2 separate regions of the Homo sapiens genome follow, and region 2 is linked to region 1. The links are contacts of gene promoters, found by promoter capture Hi-C in blood cells and fetal thymus (Javierre and others, 2016). All regions are on one chromosome and are shown on one strand. The core of a region is centred on a gene start or on the middle of the fragment in contact, and the rest is flanking DNA. Distances in the headings are between cores, read along the strand shown.

Evidence for each region. Contacts are between HindIII fragments. The CHiCAGO score rates a contact against its expected background, and 5 or more counts as called.
Region 2: a contact is called between a fragment that was not itself captured here and the fragment with the promoter of ERCC4 in region 1, in 1 of 17 cell types (activated CD4 T cells). The highest score is 5.1, in activated CD4 T cells.

What each region holds. Positions count from the first base shown.
Region 1 is chr16:13,918,581-13,922,231 of GRCh38, forward strand. ERCC4 (ERCC excision repair 4, endonuclease catalytic subunit) reads left to right here and starts at 1,574. Exons shown (of 11, transcript NM_005236.3): 1 at 1,574-1,792; 2 at 3,451-3,631. The coding sequence starts at 1,586. The region is part of intron 1 of LOC105371093 (a long non-coding RNA gene); the gene reads right to left. It overlaps LOC124903647 (a long non-coding RNA gene), which reads right to left and starts at 1,498. Exons shown (of 2, transcript XR_007065001.1): 1 at 1,099-1,498; 2 at 885-1,003. RefSeq lists enhancers at 1,158-1,207, 1,418-1,777, 1,818-2,027. The HindIII fragment of the contact is 6,939 bases long and covers 1-3,651 here.
Region 2 is chr16:19,516,646-19,520,181 of GRCh38, forward strand. It overlaps GDE1 (glycerophosphodiester phosphodiesterase 1), which reads right to left. Exons shown (of 6, transcript NM_016641.4): 2 at 369-544. Among named protein-coding and RNA genes, the nearest start is that of GDE1, 3.7 kb to the right of the region's middle. The HindIII fragment of the contact is 1,461 bases long and covers 1,087-2,547 here.

The DNA of each region.
Region 1 (3,651 bases), core at 324-2,823:
ACACTAACTAGCTCCCGTGGCCTTGCCCAAGTTATATAACCTCCCTGCACCTCCATTTTTCTCACTGGCAGAACTGACGAGATTAATATCTGCCTCAGAGGAAACGCTGTATGTAAAGTGTCTGCCGGCAACCCTTTCCACTTAAACAGCATTCAGGAATTATATGCTATTTTCATCTTGACAAAATGTAAGCAAAATACCAGATTAAGCAGTAAAGAGGTAGAGGAACAGATCCTCTTGGAAACGGCTAGTGTGAATGTGAATTGGTATAGGCTTTCTAGAGGGCAATGTGGCAATGTGAATGGAATGAAAAGCCTTACAAATTTTTTTCTCTTTATCCCAGTGATTATTCATTTCTAGACGTGTATCTGAAGGCCACGGCTGAATTTACATACAAAGATGTTTAGTGAAATATTATTTATATTACTGGAAGGGAAAAAGCAGAAACAGACTAAATGTCCTCTAATAAGCAATTAGGTAAGTACACCCACATAATGGAAATCTCATCAGCCATATAAAAGGACTTTGTAAAAGAATATGAAACATCATGTTCAGAGGTTTGCCAAATGTTAATGACAAAGCTGGGGATTTAAATCAGGGATATTAATTATCTCGTGTCGGTAAAAGAACTCCGTGTGATGAGAGAATGTGTATATAGATAGAAAAAAAAGGACTAAATAAAATAGATTTCGTGATGTTAACAGTGGTTATTTCCAAGTAATGGAAACAAGTGATTTTCATTTTTGTTTACTTGTATTTTCTATTTTCTAATAACAAAGGTGGGGGGTTTCTATACAAAACAATTCCTCTACTAGTTCAACTATCAGGCATTTCTAGGTATAGAACAAACACTGCGGGAGGTGTCCCTCTAGTGGAAGGAGGGATTTTTAAAAATAGTTTATTGTATTGAAGTCTTTGGGAGGCAAACAGAGGTCTGAAGTCAGTAAATGATTCTGCTTATTCCACAGCCACTGCACTCCAGCCTGGGCAACATATCAACATCCTGTCTCGGGAAAGAAAAAAAAAATTAAAAGAAGGATGGGGAGTAATCGCAAAAGGAAGGGCCAAAAACCACCCTAGGAAACAGGTGCTACTAACTCTTGGCGCATTTGGAATATTGACCAGTAACTTTTTCAACTGTCGATGTCGGGGGATTAAGCTCCTTAGGCTTACTTCCCCTTCCCTTGCTTTTTGGCAGCTTGAGGCTAGGGTGCCAGGGGATGTGGAAACTCAAAAGAGACGTGAATGGAGCCTGATATCTGCAAGCTACACCGACAGGGGGCGCCAGCCCCTACAGGTGACTCCATGAATCTTCGGCTCCACTCGGCTCTTCTTCGGCTGAGTTCGGCCAACGCTTGCCTTCTCAGGCTCGGCTCTCTTCGGCTTTCTGAGAGCGCGCCTGTCGTGGCCTCGGCTCCTCTTCGGCTGCGTTCGGCCCACGATCATCTCAGTCTCAGCTCTCCTCGGCTACGTTCGGCTGGCTGCCGTCCTCTCGGACTCGGCTCTCTTCGGTTGAGTTCGGCCTACTCTCCACTAGGAGTCGGCTTCCTTCGGCTGCGTTCGGCTGCGACCCGGAAGAGCTTCCATGGAGTCAGGGCAGCCGGCTCGACGGATTGCCATGGCGCCGCTGCTGGAGTACGAGCGACAGCTGGTGCTGGAACTGCTCGACACTGACGGGCTAGTAGTGTGCGCCCGCGGGCTCGGCGCGGACCGGCTCCTCTACCACTTTCTCCAGCTGCACTGCCACCCAGCCTGCCTGGTGCTGGTGCTCAACACGCAGCCGGCCGAGGAGGTGCGGCCGCGCTGGCGCGGGAGTGAGGGGACTCCGAGAGTGTTGAGGGCCTCCTGAGCGGATGCGAGGCCTCTGACAGGGATGGAGGGGCTCTGAGGGGGATTCAGGCCCCTGACACTACGCGATGACACAGAGAAGGATGGCAGGGGTCCCCAGGGGGATGCAGGTCCCTCACACTGCGGGAACACAGACGTATGTAAGGGGTCGCTAGGAGGATACCGGTCGCTCACACCGTGCGGGGACACTGATAAGAATTGGAGGGGCCCCGAGAAGGCTGCAGGTCCCTGGCAGGAGTTGAAGAACACTAAGAGGAATGCCAGTCCCTGACACTGTGCGGGGACTCTGAGAGGGAAGGGAGGGGTCCCAAGAAGGATGCAAGTCTTTGACCAGAGTTCAAGAACACTAAGAGAAATGGGAGGGGTCCCCAGGGGATGCGGGTCCCTGACACTGTGCAGGCACAGTGAGAATGATGGAAGGGGTCCCGAGAAGGATGCAATTCCCTGACAACACTAAGAGGGATGGGAGGGGTCCCCAGAAGGATGCAGGTCCCTGACATGGGTGCAAGGGCACTGAAAGGTGAAGGGGCTCTGAGTGGTAGGAGAGGATCGGAGGTCGCTGCAGGGGAGGGGGAGATGTCGGAAGGAGGATCTGGATAGGAATAACGGGAGAGTCCTGAAGTTGGCCATTAAGGGAGTTTCTGGGGGCAGAAGGAAGGTCCCTGAAAGGGAACAGTGATGAGGATGGAAGATCTCTGAGGGTGATGGGGAGACATGAAAGGAGATGCTGAGGCGCTGGAAAAACCCCAATAGGGAAAAGGAGGGACCAGGAAATAGGACATTCACCAAGGCTGTGTTAAGAGGGCCATAGGGTCAGAAAGGGATTGGAGCTTGACGCTGAGGATGTTGGCAAAGGTTAACTACAGTTAAGGACAATGGAGAACACTGAGAAAGATGGAATGGGGCTACACATGGGTCTGAGGGGTGTTGAGAGGGGACACAGCTTGGTCGGACAAGTCTGATGATCCCCTAGATATATCAGGTGGCCGGGAGAAAAATGTCAGCTGAGAAGAGTGACCACAGTCTCTTTGAGGGCAGGGATCCTGTTTGATTCATCTAGGTATCCCCAGTGCTTGGCATAGGGCCTAAGGCAACACACAGGGCCTAGTAAAGATGGTTTTAAACTGGGGATATAAATAAACCAAGCCAAGGGACCCAGTGACATGAAGTCCCTCTAGGATAGATTAGCACAGAACTGATAGTCTAAAACATTGTCTGGGGAAAGGATTCCCTTGTTATCATCTCATAGAATGTGCTTGGCTACAAACCTGGCTTTGGTGGGAAGTATTTTCTAGGTAGCAGAAATCTTTTAATCCAGGCTTTTAAAAGTTTGAGGTTTTGTATGTGTGTGCATATGTTATTGTAGTTGAGTGCTGATAATGACTGAAGTGCAATTATTCCTTAGTGTAAACCCCAAAACAAGAAAACCTCATTAAATGTAGACTGGTTGGCTGAAGTTACTATAAAGAAGTAACTTAGTGTGTATATTCATTATTAAGTTCATTATCTCAGAGAAAGACAGCACATTATTTTAAATATCTGTGACCTATTAAAAACTGCCCTGTATTAAATAGCCTACTAATCAAGTTTGATTTGATTTAGGAGTATTTTATCAATCAGCTGAAGATAGAAGGAGTTGAACACCTCCCTCGCCGTGTAACAAATGAAATCACAAGCAACAGTCGCTATGAAGTTTACACACAAGGTGGTGTTATATTTGCGACAAGTAGGATACTTGTGGTTGACTTCTTGACTGATAGAATACCTTCAGATTTAATTACTGGTAAGAATTTGAAATCTTAT
Region 2 (3,536 bases), core at 567-3,066, 5.6 Mb after region 1:
AAATGGGTTAAGTTAAAATGTGATATTATAATGTTACTTGAAGCTTTTAATGAATGTATAATTTGCTTCTTGGTACACCTGAAGGCAAGAAGATTGCCAAGCAATGACTTTCAGCCTCATGATTCTATGACTAGACAGTATTATCTTGACAATAATTCTGAAGCCAAATTTAGCCTCAGTGGGAAAGATTAAAAACATAATGCCAAATTTCTGTTGTTCCTGGCACTTGCTCATTACTTACAAGACCTACGTACAGTTCAAAACAAAACAAGACAACTCTCCTGGGGCAGATGTAATTAGAAGGCACCAGTGTCTGTCATTTCCAATAAAAGCTAAAAGATCTGTTTAAGTGACAATAAACTACTTACCTGAGTCTGTGGTTTGCTGCAGGATTCAGCTTCCTAATTTGTTCAAATGTCAAATCACACAATCGCCCAGTCCCATCAGTCGTCCTATCTACTGTGTTATCGTGCATTAAGACAGGAATCCCGTCAGAAGTAAACTCAATGTCCAACTCCACGCCTGTTGCTCCATTCTTAGCTGCCTTAACAAAAACATCAAGAATATTACTGTCAAATGGCCACAAACATTATTTTGCATCTAACCACCCAAAAGACCAGCAGGGCTCCTAAGACAGCTGTCCTTTTTGATTCATTTTCCTTCCACTTCCCCCACCAAACAGCAATCCTGATCTGTTTCTGTTTTCTGTGTATATAACCTTACTTCAATTCCTAACTGATGGATTCCTTAAAAACTTTAATTTTCCCACTCTTCTTACTTTCACAGTGGAAGACTAGGAGACTTCAGGAACTTATGTTTTCTCTGGATGTTTAACTATATGGGTCATCAATGGCTTATGAATACTTAGACAATTCCACTGTTTACCTACACTATTTGTTGGTACAGCAGTTCTGATGATCACCCTACGGTTGTTGATTAGTCAGATATTTCACTACTTTGGCATAAATGAGTCAGGTTTTTGTTGGTTTAATTCCACCCTCTACCACAAAGACACCACGCCTGCTTCTAGGACATATCACATTTTGTTTATGTAAGCAGCACTGGCTGTTGGCCCATAAGTTGTTAAGCTTGATGAGGTAGATTAGAATTTATCTAAAAAGAGAATTTGAACCTTAAATTACACGAGCCATGCTCCTCTGGAGACACACTATTTAATGTTTGCTTCCTTGGCTTCCTCATCACAATAAAGATGTGAAATGCTCATTACGATGAAGATTTCTTTCTTTTTTTTTTTTTTTGGAGACAGGATCTGGCTCTGTTGTTCAGGCTAGAGTGCAGTGGCATGATCTCGGCTCACTAAAACCTCCGCCTCCTGGGTTCAAGCCATCCTCCCACCTCAGTCTCCCAAGTAGCCGGGACTACTGGCACGTGCCACCATGCCCAGCTAATTTTTGTATTTTTTGTAGAGATGGGGTTTCACCATGTTGTCCAGGCTGGTCTCGAACTCCTGAGATCAAGCAATCCTCCTGCCTCAGTCTCCCAAAGTGCTGGGATTACAGGTGTGAGCCACTGTGCCCAGCTATGATCAAGATTTTTAATTTTTTAAAAAATATTTTAAGTCATGGTCTATTGCAAACATCTACAGTAAAAAAGATTTAACATATGTGAATATTTTGACCTAATTTCCTCAGTCTCTTTCTGTACTAAAACAAAAACAAAAACAAAAACTATTATTTATTGAGCCTTTTCTACTTGCCAGGCACTCTTCTAAGTGCTTTAAATGTATTAACTTATTTGATCCTCACAACCCTGAAGCAGGTACTATTAATATTCTCATTTAACAGATAAGAAAACTGAGACAAAGAAAGAGTAGGAAACTTGCCCAGGGCTGCACAAGCTAGGATGCAGTAGAAGTTGCACTCTTATCCGCTTCAGTTTTACTATCAACACTACAGATACAGCTGAAATTCTCCCTTTCATTCTCCTCCTTTCCTCTCCAGAGGTAATTACCATCTTAAAGTTGGTGTATATCATTCTCATGTCACTCCCTTACCGGTTTTTATTTAAGTACCCATAAACAACACAGAGCACTGTGCTAGTGAATAGTTAAGATTTCAATAAATGTTAGCCATTGTTATTTATTATGTCCTTTTAAACACATCTTTAAAGGTAATATAGTCAAATTTATCAATAACGTCCTTTATGGGTGGAGATTTTTCTGCTTTATTTAAATCTTTTCCTTTTCCCATGTGATACAGATGTACGACTATTTTGGAAAAACACATCACATTTTCCCTCTGCTCTCACAACAATCAACCCCGACGTCTGTGACCAAAAATGTGGGGGTTTTTCCCCACCAATAAGTAGTGGACACCAGCTGGGTATCCTCCAACTCAATTTTGACACTATCTACCTGGAGATAGTGTCAGATCATAGGTTGAGGGCTTGGTCCCCAAGACTGCACCCCACCCTCCTCCAGACACAAATAGCAAGCTGGGGCCTATGGAACTTCTGACCAATTGGCTTCAAGTCCTCTTAGGTTTATTTTAGTTTTTATTTTTTTAATTCCTCTTAGGTTTTTATGGAAGCTTCATGATGTCAGCATTCCTTCCCCCAGGGTATAGGGTGGGGTCCCTCTCTGAGGAGGGTCTTAAGACTCACAATTTGAAAGACAGGGAAAGATTCCAGTCCTGCCTTGGGGTAGGTGAAAGGAGGGCAGGAGAGATTCTGTTTCCCAAGGCCTGCTCCTAAGGCCTAGGATGCCTAACAAAATACTGTAGCAAGGGCTGAGAGTTATGAGCCAGGAACCATGGATGAAAACCTATATATGTGTGTGTATGTGCATATATATATATATATATATATATACATACACAATACTTAATAGATTACAATATAGTGTAAACATAACTTTTATATGCACTGGGAAACCAAAAAATTTGTGACTCCCTTTATTACTATATTTGCTTTATTGACTATTTACTCAGGTCTGGAACTGAACTTGCAATATCTCCTATATATACTAATATGTGAATTAGAACCAGGGATTCATCTTTTTATCTCAATTACTGGAATAACATAGAAGTACTGGTAAAGCTGGCCAGGCAGTGGCTCATGCCTGTGATCCCAGCACTTTGCCTGTAATCCCAGCACTCTGTAATCCACTGAGGCAGGTGGATCACTTGAGGTCAGGAGTTTGAGACCAGCCTTGCCAACATGGCAAAACACCATCTCTACTAAAAACAAAAAACAAAAATTAGCTGGGAGTGGAGGAGTACATCTGTAATCTTAGCTACTTGGGAGCCTGAGGCACAAGAATCGCTTCAACCTGGGAGGTGGAAGTTGCAGTGAGTTGAGATCGCCCCACTGCACTCAAACCTGGGTGACAGAGAGAGACCCTGTCTCAAAAATAAATAAATAAATAAAATTATTGGTAAAGTCGAATGTATACATACATATATACATTTCTGACAGTGCTAGAATTTCTGGTAGATTATAAATGAGATATAGAAGGAAAAACTTGATAAATGTGAGTTGAGTGTATTCCAAAAACAGATACACTACTATAAACAGTG